Linked DNA regions of Homo sapiens: all the other regions are linked to region 1. The links are contacts of gene promoters, found by promoter capture Hi-C in human tissues and cell types (Jung and others, 2019). All regions are on one chromosome and are shown on one strand. Each heading gives the region's core, a stretch centred on a gene start or on the middle of the fragment in contact. The rest is flanking DNA. Distances are from core to core; before and after follow the strand shown.

Evidence for each region. The method cuts DNA at HindIII sites, captures the fragments that hold promoters and counts their contacts. A contact is called where the count stands out against the background at its distance.
Region 2: a fragment that was not itself captured here is called in contact with the fragment with the promoter of UPK3B in region 1 in 1 of the 25 tissues and cell types used here (spleen).
Region 3: a fragment that was not itself captured here is called in contact with the fragment with the promoter of UPK3B in region 1 in 1 of the 25 tissues and cell types used here (dorsolateral prefrontal cortex).

Annotation. Positions count from the first base shown.
Region 1 is chr7:76,508,890-76,512,392 of GRCh38, reverse strand. It overlaps UPK3B (uroplakin 3B), which reads right to left and starts at 1,841. Exons shown (of 6, transcript NM_001347684.2): 1 at 1,656-1,841; 2 at 1,341-1,490; 3 at 511-736. The coding sequence starts at 1,740. LOC124901675 (a long non-coding RNA gene) reads left to right here and starts at 1,660. Exons shown (of 2, transcript XR_007060388.1): 1 at 1,660-1,869; 2 at 2,285-3,503. RefSeq lists enhancers at 1-477, 1,231-1,803, 1,804-2,376 and a silencer at 3,254-3,459. The HindIII fragment of the contact is 20,174 bases long and covers 1-3,503 here.
Region 2 is chr7:77,230,846-77,234,348 of GRCh38, reverse strand. All of the region lies in intron 2 of CCDC146 (coiled-coil domain containing 146), which reads right to left. All of the region lies in intron 1 of CCDC146-AS1 (CCDC146 antisense RNA 1), which reads left to right. Among named protein-coding and RNA genes, the nearest start is that of CCDC146-AS1, 16 kb to the left of the region's middle. The HindIII fragment of the contact is 8,636 bases long and covers 1-3,503 here.
Region 3 is chr7:77,125,763-77,129,265 of GRCh38, reverse strand. All of the region lies in intron 1 of CCDC146 (coiled-coil domain containing 146), which reads right to left. It overlaps LOC124901678 (a long non-coding RNA gene), which reads left to right. Exons shown (of 3, transcript XR_007060391.1): 2 at 540-760; 3 at 2,494-2,760. Among named protein-coding and RNA genes, the nearest start is that of CCDC146, 4.9 kb to the right of the region's middle. RefSeq lists an enhancer at 456-575. The HindIII fragment of the contact is 7,185 bases long and covers 1-3,503 here.

The DNA.
Region 1 (3,503 bases), core at 592-3,091:
TCCTGAGGTCACCCCGCCTCCTCCTGTGTCCGGACAGTCCTGACCTGGACACACTGCCTGCTTCCCCATCCCGGCTCCACCCCGATGTTGGCAGGCCACTTGACCTCCTGTGCCTCAGTTTCCTCATCTGTAAGAGCGGGTAGGAGCCACCTCTCCTGCTCCCTGCCTAATACCGACGAGACTGGGTCTGAACTCGGCCCCCGAGTTTCCTGCCAGATCTGCCCGTGGTGGGGGACAGGGGCCTAGACTTTGGGGAAGCTGCCCCCTCCCACCTTGACTAAGATCCCGCCTCCCCAAGGTGCCCACCTGCTCCTCCTGGGCCTTGCCCGGCCCCAGCGGGGGTGAGCACTGTTGCTGACTCTACAGTGGAAGGAGCCCGGGCTTGCAAAGGGGAGGACCGGGGCCGGGGACCCCTCCCTGGAAAGATGCTAGAGAGAGCATCCCTGGTCCCAGCAATGCGTCCGCCCCAAGCACAGCCCCAGTCCCAGGGCTCCGGTGGGGACCACCCACCGATAGGGTCCAGGGCCAGGGAGGGGCGCGTTGCAGAAGGGCTGCTGGTGGCAGCCGTGGTCATGGCCCACCCGCAGCACGGGGGCGCCTCCGCTGCCCGCCATGGGGTCGCCACAGGGCAGCTGGTCCGGAGACAGGGGCAGCGTCATGTAGTGGCCATCGGTCAGCAGCTGTGGGGAGGCCGGAATGTCAGCCAGTGTCTCCGGGTTCTGGAAGCCCCTGGAGGCTGCAGGAGGAGAGAACAGATGGAGGTGGGAGGGGAGAAAGCAGCTTTGTCCTTATGAGTGGGGGTTCTGTGTTCGCCCAGTCTCCAGCCCTGACCCCCCATGCCACCTCCTCCCTCAGGGCCCCCAGAGATAGTCCAGACCCAGTCGACTTTGTTACCCCTGAAGGGGAGCTTCCCTCTGGCCTTTTGTCCCCACCCAGAGCCAGGAGTGGGGAGCAGCGGGCAGTCCCAACCTGCCCAGCCCCAGCCCCAGCCCCATTGCAGTGCACCGGCCCTGCCCCACAGGAGGCCACATCCTCCCAGGTCGCAGCCTCGGTTCCCTGTCCAAAGGAAGAACTACTTGGATTCAGAGAAAGGGTTGCAGAGCCCTTGACAGCTGACAAACCCACCACTAGCACTACTCCCGGGATTTGGTGTTCACTACGTGTGTATTTTTCAATACACATATTACCCCTTTAGATAAAGCCCAATTCATCCACACCTACTCTCCCAAAGGCCCCCACAGGGGCTCAATCATTGAAGGCGCTTGCTGGTGAGGGGCTCCTAGGGCCCACCACTCTCCTCAGCCGTCACCCTCACCCAGGCCCCACAGCAGTCCCCGTACCATTGCTGAAGGCCACCACGAGCCAGACGGTATCGCTGGCGCTGGCAAGCCCATCGAAGACACAGCGCGGCTGCTCCAGGGAGAAGGTGGTGGCTGTGACCTTCCCTTCCAGGTCCCAAGCTGTTATCTGTGGTGTGTAGGGCACCAGCTCTGTGGCCACGGGGGACAAAAGGTGAGCCACGGAGACGGGCGTGGGGGTCCCTGGGGCTGCCTCTCCCAATCGGAGGGGGGCGGGCGCCCAGGGTCCAATCACTCCAGCAGGGCCCCCAGCCCCTTGGGTCTGGCTGGACGCGTCCATCCAGGACCCCCACTCACCCAGGCTCAGGCTGGGCCGGAGACAGTTCAACGCCAGGAGGAGCATCTGCAGCCCTAGGTGAGGCTGCCCCCAGGGTAGCCCCATGACAGCTGCCAGCACCCGGGAGGCTCAGGGGCTGGTCTGGCTGCTTCGGGCTGCACCTCACCCCCAACAGCTTGGCCCTGGAGAAGCTGGTTAATCAGGCTGCCCCAGGGGCTGGAAAGACCTGCAAATGTAAGTGCACCCCACCCCCTTCCTCCCAGGCCAGCCCACAGCAGGGAGGAGCTGGGGGGACTCTGGTGGGAGGCAGGCCAGTATCCAGCCCCACTGCCAGGGCCAAGGGAGAGGGGCCACTGGAACCCCAGATGCCAGCCAGGCCATCCCGGAGCCTGGATTGGGGCCCCTCCCAGTCTCTCCGCCCTGGGGAGGAGGGTCTGGCTTTTGGAAACAGGCTCAGGACCACATGCCTGAGATTCCTGTGCCCCAGGTGCCAGGAGCCTCCCTCTGCCTTCTGTCCCCACCCAGAGTCAGGAGTGGGGAGTAGCAGGCAGCCCCAACCTGCCCAGCCCCATCCCCATCACAGCACGCTGGCCCTGCCCCCCACGAGGCCACATCCTCCCAGTTCGCAGCCTGGGTTCCCTGTCCACAGGAAGAAGAACTTGGATTCAGAGAAAGGGCTGCAGAGCCCTTGACAGCTGACAAGCCCGCCACTTAAACACTACTCCCGGGATTTGGCGCTCACTATGTGTGTATTTTTCAAGACATAACTCACATACCTTCACAACCTTCACAGCTCAGTGGCTTAAATATATATATGTCACCCAGGGAGGTCAGTTCACAGCTAACTGGAGCCTCAAACTCCCAGGTTCAGTTAATCCTCCCACCTCAGCCTTCCCAGTAGCTGGAACCACAGGCACACAACACCATGCTCCGGCTAATTTTTAAAATTTATTTAATTAATTTTTTTTTAAGATGGAGTCTCCTTTGTTGTCCAGGCTGGAGTGCAGTGGCGTGATCTGGGCTCACTGCAACCTCCGCCTCCTGGGTTCAAGCGATTCTCCTGCCTCAGCCTCCCAAGTAGCTGGGATTACAGGCATGTGCCCCACGGCCAGCTAATTTTTGTATTTTTAGTAGGGACGGGGTTTCACCATGTTGGCTTGGCTGGTCTCAAATTCCTGATCTCAAGTGATCCACCCGCCTTGGCCTCCCAAAGTGCTGGGATTACAGGCATGTGCCACCGTGCCTGGCACCCCCGCCAATTTTTTTTTTGTTTTTTTTGAAACGGAGTTTTCACTCTTGTTGCCCAGGCTGGAGTACAATGGCTCGATCTTGGCTCACCGCAACCTCCACCTCCTGGGTTCAAGTGATTCTCCTGCCTCAGCCTCCTGAGTAGCTGGGATTACAGGCATGTGCCACCACACCTGTCTAATTTTGTATTTTTAGTAGAGATAGGGTTTCTCCACGTTGGTGAGGCTGGTCTCGAACTCCTGACCTCAGGTGATCCACCCACCTCAGCCTCCCAAAGCGCTGGGATTGCAGGTGTGAGCCACTGCGCCCGGCTGGCCAATTTTTAAAAATGTATTTTTTATAGAAACAGGATCTTGCTATGTTGCCCAGGCTGATCTCTAACTCCTGGGAGGATCAAGCAAATCTCCTGCCTTGGCCTCCTAAAGTATTGGGATTACAGGCGTGAGCCACCGTGCCTGGCTATTTTTTTTTTTTTTTGAGACATGGAGTCTCACCCTGTCGCCCAGGCTGGAGTGCAATGGCGTGATCTCTGCTCACTGCAACCTCCACCTCCTGGGTTCAAGCAATTCTTCTGCCTCAGCCTCCCTAGTAGCTGGGACTACAGGCACCTACCACCATGC
Region 2 (3,503 bases), core at 594-3,093, 720 kb before region 1:
ATTTATTTCATGTTTCAAACATTTTCATTGGTTTCCCAAAGTATACAGACCATAGTTACTATGGCTTTAAAATCTAATAAGTTAAAAAAAAAAAAAGCCTTTACAAATGGACACACTTAAAGGAGAAAAGTTGCTGGGAAAAGATTATGAAAAGGTAAATATGTGAGTGTGTGTTTGTATGTATATGGGTACAATGAAGACCAACTAGGGGCTAGCCCAGTAACTAGCTAACCAGCCATTTTCTGAAGGTAAACTACTGGGTAAGGTAATTGTGGACTCAAATATTCAAAAAAACAGATAGTATTTAGTTTTGTTCTTAAGCTAAAAAGACCATTACTTCCTACTTAATGCTCCCTGCATAAAAAAAACAGAAATGAATATAACATAGGCTCTGCCTTAAGGTAGGCCAAAGTTTGAAGAGATAGATACAAAAAAAAAAAATGATAGAATACTGAAACTACATTCTGCAGTTTTATTTTAAGTAAATGATTGTATTTGGCATTTTGCAATGTTTTAATATTGCAAGTTAAAGCAGGAGTTCCCAGCCCCTGGGCTTTAGGAACTGGGCTGCACAGCAGGAGATGAGCAGCGGGCAAGTGAGCATTACCACCTGAGCTCTGCCTCCTGACAGATCAGCAGTGGCATTAGATTCTCATAGGAGCATAAACCCCATTGTGAAATGCGCATGTGAGGGATCTAGGTTGTGCACTCCTTAGGAGAATGTAATGCCTGATGATCTACGGTGGAACAGTTTCATCCCAAAAGCATTCCTTCTGCCCCACGGAAAAATTGTCTTCCACGAAACTGGTCCCTGGTGTCAAAAAGGTTGGGGGGCTGCTGATTTAAAGCAAATAAGTAAAATTATAAATTACAGACCAATCCAGGGGGTGGGTGGGACTTCCAAAATGGTGGGATGAAGAGTTTGATGAATTCTCTCCTTCAAAGAAACATTGATTTGGCCGGGCACTGTGGCTCACGTCTGTAATCCCAGCACTTTAGGAGGCTGAGGCGGGCAGATCACCTGAGGTCGGGAGTTTGAGACCAGCCTGGCCAACATGATGAAACCCCATCTCTACTAAAAATACAAAAAAAATTAGCTGGGCATGGTGGCGCATGCCTGTAGTCCCAGCTACTTGGGAGGCTGAGGCAGGAGAATCGCTTGAACCCCAGAGGCAGAGGTTGCAGTGAGCTGAGATCACGCCACTGCACTCCAGCCTGGGTGACAGAGTGAGATTCCGTCTAAAAAAAAAAAAACAAACAAAAGAAACAAAAGAAGCATTGATTTAACTGGTCAAAATAATCTGAGACAACCATTTAAAGTCTCTGGAAATTGACCTAAGGTTATATAATAAATTGAGAAACACTTATTCAATAAAATCTACTGAAGCTCAGCAAGAAACTGTGGCATTTGAACCATGGGCTGCATCCATCCCTCTAGCTTCAGGTTTCAGAACTATTCTGGGCAGGCTTGCAGCCAGTGAGGTGCCCATGTCCCCCACTTTCCTATTGCTGAGGATCAAGATCTATCCCAGGTGAAGATCTAAGAAACGGTAGCACTCAGCACTCATCCTCCCCTTCTTCCCCATGGGCAGCTGTAGCTGTTCGGTAGTGCCAGTACTCACTCCCTAATGTCCTGCTCTACAGGGAGACCCTGGGCAGGGCAAACAAAACAGATCAGAGTTCCCCATATCCCCAGCTCCTGCTCAGTAACACAGAGGCTCTAACCAGGTTGGGGGCTGAGCAAGCTGTGAGGACTTGCAGCTCTGCAGCCCTGCCTTTGACTTTATTTGGAACAGAGTGTAGGATATTCATGTCCCAGAGCAATGTAAAAAATAACAGACATAGAAAAACAGATATCATAAGGGCTAACAGAGTAGGCTAATAGTTTTGTGATGCTAATAGATGCAGACCAGCAGAAGTTTAACAGAGAAATTGGGACGAGGGACAGTAAAAAAATTCACACTTGATACTGGTGGTCCAGGAGACTGTGGAAAAGCCCACGGCTGTGACCACCCAAGATCAACCAGACAGGGTACTTCCAAGTCAGTCCCTGAGTTAAAAGTGGCAGATATATAAACTCCTCGAACTCCAAAAGTTGTTCCCAAGCCACACACAGACCCAGTGGAAAAGGATGAAAACCTTACTGGCTCAGTGAGCTTAAGCGTGACCTCTGACCAATCAGTGACTGACCGAGGGCAACACCCAGGAATTCAAGTTTAAAAACAAAAAAACAAGGAACAACTATCTAAGCAGAGACATTAGAGGCTGCCTACTGCGGGGGAAAAATATACTTCACAGTATTAGTCCAGCCAAGTCACTAAACAAATAAATAGATGAACAACAATAACAAGAACAAAACAGCATCAATAAGCCTGGGAAGGATCAGAATCCAGAGTTGTTACAATATATGACCTAAAATGTCCAATTTACAATGAAAAATTATGAGACTTGCAAGGAAACAAGAAAATATGACCCCCATCCCATATAGTGAGATCCCCAGTTCCTTTCTGCAGAGGAAAAAAAAAAAAAACAACAACAACAGGCAGAAACTTTCTTAGGGAGGATGCAGACGTTAGATTTAACAAAGACTTCAAAGAAAATATTATAAATATGTTTGAAGAATGAAAGAAACCATGTTTTAAAAATTAAAGGAGAGTATGATGACAATGCATCAAATAGAGATTGTCAGTAAGAAGAAATTTTTAAGGAGCTACACTGAAATTCCTAAGTAGAAAATCATAATTGAAAAATTCACTGGAGGAGTTCAACAGTAGATTTGAGCAAGCAGAAGAATCAATCGGTAAACTTGTAGATCAGTAGAGAAGGCAGTAGTGCCCACTTATTCATGGGGGATGTGCTCCAAGACCCCAGGAGGATCCCTGAATGGATAGTACCAAACCCATTTATGCTAGGCACAAATTTATTTTCCCTTCTTCACAATTCACAGATAAGATTTGTTCTTACTGTAGATCTTAGCAATCTCAGCAAACTTTTTTTTCTTTCCTTATTAAATTGAGAACTTTCACTTTTTCACTTAAAGAAAGCACTTTATGGCTTCTCTTTGGCGTATCCAAATTGCCACTATCACTGATCTTGTGCTTTGGGGCCATTATTAAGTAAAATAAGGGTAACTTGAAGACAAGCACAGCAATCCTGCAACAGTGGACCTGGTAACTAAGACAGCCACTAAGTGATTAATGGGTGGGTAGCATACACAGTGTGTACATGCTGGACAAAGGGATGATTCACATTTCAGGTGGGATGGTGTGGGAACATGAGAGATTTTATCACACTACTCAGAATAGCATGCAATTTAAACTTATGGATTGTTTACTTCTGGAATTTTCCACTTAATATTTTTGGACCATAGTTGACCACGGATACCTGAAATCGCAGAACATAAAATTGCAGATGGTGGGGGGGACTACTGTATATAATTTGAATAACAGAGAGAAAAAGCATGAAGACACACAAACAGATTGTCACAGAAATGGAGGACATTA
Region 3 (3,503 bases), core at 628-3,127, 620 kb before region 1:
AGCTACTGAGTGACAATTGGGTGGGTAGGGTAGACAGTGTGGATATGCTGCACAAAGGATGGAGTGAGACAGTGCAAGATTTCATCATGTTCTCAGAACTGTGTGCAATTTAAAATTTACAAGTTATTTCCAGAATTTTCCATTTAATATTTTCAGACTGCAGTTCATCATGGGAAACTGAAACCTCAGAAAGCAAAGCCAAAGATAAGAGGGGCCTACTGTACTCCATGTTTGTGCAGGAGTAGGGCTGACCCTGTTACTTACGTAGTTTCAAACATAGAATTAGGATCACCTTCTCTAGTTCTCTTCTACATGGGATTTCGGCTACACTTTACAGTTTTTGTGGGCCCCTTTTGTTATGGCCAAAAGGATCAGGCTGTCTTAAAGATTTTGCCTTATGCTGCCATTCACTTCTAAGTACTTGGGGCTGCCCTCGAGGTAAAATATCAAGAAAAAGAGAGAAAGAGTATCGGGATTCCCCCACACACTCTCTTTCCAGTTCCTCTATTCAGAGAGACAGTGTTCTCTTTTATTCTTAGGAAACCTCACAGCCTGGCAGTGGCAGTGCAAATCTATGTTTGGAGCTGGCTTTGTGGCAGGGCCAGCAGACCAAAACGGAAAGAAAAAAATCGGGATTTCCCTACAATTTCTGTGTGGCAGGAGCCCCTTTTCTTCTACACAGTTCTCAATTCAGCCTGCTTTTAAGTGAAAGCCAGAAGATAAAGGAGGAAAAAAGAAACAAGGAAACTGAAACTTATTGGTATGTCTTATTTCTTAAACTGGGTGTTAGGCATAAAGATGTTCTTTTTACTATTATTCTTTAGACTTTATTCATACTTTATTCTTTTGTATGAATGAATTACTTTGCACAGAAGGAAATGAAGCAAAAATAAAAGGAAATAAAAATCGAAAACCTGGCCCATGACCATGGAAATTGGTCGAGTTCTGACTGAAGCAAATCCAAAATTGTTCTACAGGGAACAAGAAAAATTTTATTGTAATCTAGAATGTAAAGGATTTTCAGAAAAGAGAACTCCCGCTGAAGATGAGCTATAAATAAAAATTTATAAGCCATGACAAGAAATAAACCACCATGAAACAGAGTTTGTTTATGTAGCAAAAGAGAAACAGCAACCTCATAACAGAACAGACTAGAATAATTTTGCATCAGTATGTTTAAAATAATTAAAAAGGCAAGAGAAGGTAAAGAAACCACAGTAAAATAAACGGAGCAGTTTAAAATAAGAGAAAATAGATTTTTTAAAGAACCAAATAAATATTCTAGAAATGATAATATAGTCATTGGGATGAAAAATTCAATGCAGATATTAAACAATGGATTAGCAAAGATTGGGAAGGAATTAATGAATTAGAACATAGATTTGAGGAAATCATCCAGAATGAAATACGAAAAGATGAAGAGGCATAAATCATATAAACACAGTTAAGGGATATGGATGACAGAATGAGAAATTAAAATACATGTCTAAATGAGAGCTCCAAAAGTAAAGAATAGAAAGAGCAAGGAAACGCTGAAGGTTTATAAATTGGAGACTTTAGACAAAGAAAGCGTATTGACTTCTGAGCAGGACAAATAAAACTAAACCATATTAACAATATTCTAACAATCTTCCATAAAATAAAAGAGGCAACATTTGCCCTTCTAATTTTACCCTAATATCAAAACCAGAAAAAGACATGAAAGAATACTTTGGACCAATATCCTTCATGAAAATAAAATGTAAAAATCCTCACAAATTTAGCAAGTTGAATCTAGCAATTTATAGAAAAGATAATGATGGCAGTGGCTGGTGCCATCACGCTGGCTGCAGTAGGGAGGAAAGGCTGAGACTGCAGACCCAGGCCTCCCACTCCATGGGGCAGTCAGGAGCCCCACCCTCCTGGACGGTGCTACAGCCGCCCAAACTGCAGCTGTAGATCTGAGCCTCCCTGCGCTCTTGAAGTGGGGCTGGGAACAGGCAGGATCTGCCCTCTTGGGTGCAGCTGCAGCCGCCTGACCAGCAGCTGCTGACCTGGGCCTCCCACAACATGGAGCAGGCAGGAGCTGGGGAATCCCGCCCCTGCTGAGTTGGCCTGCGGGAGCTCCCTGGGTGCAGCTGCCACTGCCCTCTCACCCACGGGACCCAGGCATCTCTGCAGCCTGTACCCTCTGGTGCCCCGGAAGGCCCCCCATCCCTGCAGGCTTGGGGTGTCTGCTCCCGCTGCCTGACCTCTCTCCTCTCCTGGAGCTGGCTCAGATCTTGGAGTGGGGTTGGGGTTGAGCCCTGGGGCCATGAATGGCAGCGGGAGGCAGACAGATTCTTGGGTGGAAGGGGGCAGGTCCCCAGTAAGGCTCTACCTTCAGTCCAGGGAGGGCCTGAAGGCTGGGGGCCAACTGCTGGTCCTGCATACCAGTTTGGGGACTCATGGGGCCTCTTCCAGCAGCCCATGGCTGCCCATGGACCAATCAGCATGCACTTCCTCCCCTCTGAGGTCCATAAAAGCCCTGGGCTCAGCCAGAGCAGGGCAGACGATGGCCAAAGGACGAAGAGGATAGACAGACTACACAAGGACCAGCTGCAGAAAGGAGCTACCGTCTCTGCCGAGAGCTTCAGAGACAACCTGCCAGCAGACAGGAGGCACCCTCTCCAGGGCCTCCTCTCCACTGAGAGCTGCAGACATTGGGACAACCAGTAGTAGAGAGGAGCTACCCTCTCCAGGGCCACCTCTCTAATGAGAACTGAATGCTGGACAGATGATCTTCCTACAGAGAGGAGCTACCCACTGTGGGTCTCCTCTGAGCTCTTGTAACACTTAATAAAGCTCATCTTCGTCTCGTTCACCCTTCACTTGTCTGCGTACCTCATTCTTCCTGGATGCAGGACAAGAATTCGGGCAAAGGTGCTGTGGCCACAGAGGTTTCTGGCCAGGAAATTGACAACCCAAAACTCCCTGACAATAACATGATGAAATGTAGCTTATTGAGGGAATGAAACACTTGAAAATCAATCACTGTAATACACATATCAATAAATCAGAAGAAAAACAATATGATCATCTTCATAGATACAGAAAAAGCATTTGACAAAATGCAACATTCACTTATGATAAAAAGTCTAAGCAAATTAGAAAGTAAACTTCCTTAACTTGCTAAAGGGCATCTTTAAAAATCTACTGCTAACTTCCTAATTGTTGTTGAAATTTCCCTCATAAATAGGAAATAAATCAAGGATTTTTGCTTTTGCCACTCCAACTCAATATTGTAGTGGCGGTCTTAGCCAGTGCAATAACACTAGGAAAGAAAAGCCATACAGATGAGAAAGGAAGAAATAAAACTGTCTATTTGCAGTTTCACATAGAGATTTCAAATAGAATTAGTACCTATATATATTCATTAAATACTTCTCAATGTTGATAGTTATTAGTTAAGATTGTTGAGTTTATTAATATTTCATAAGAATAATAGAAGTCATAAGATATATCTCTTTTTAAATAGTTTATAA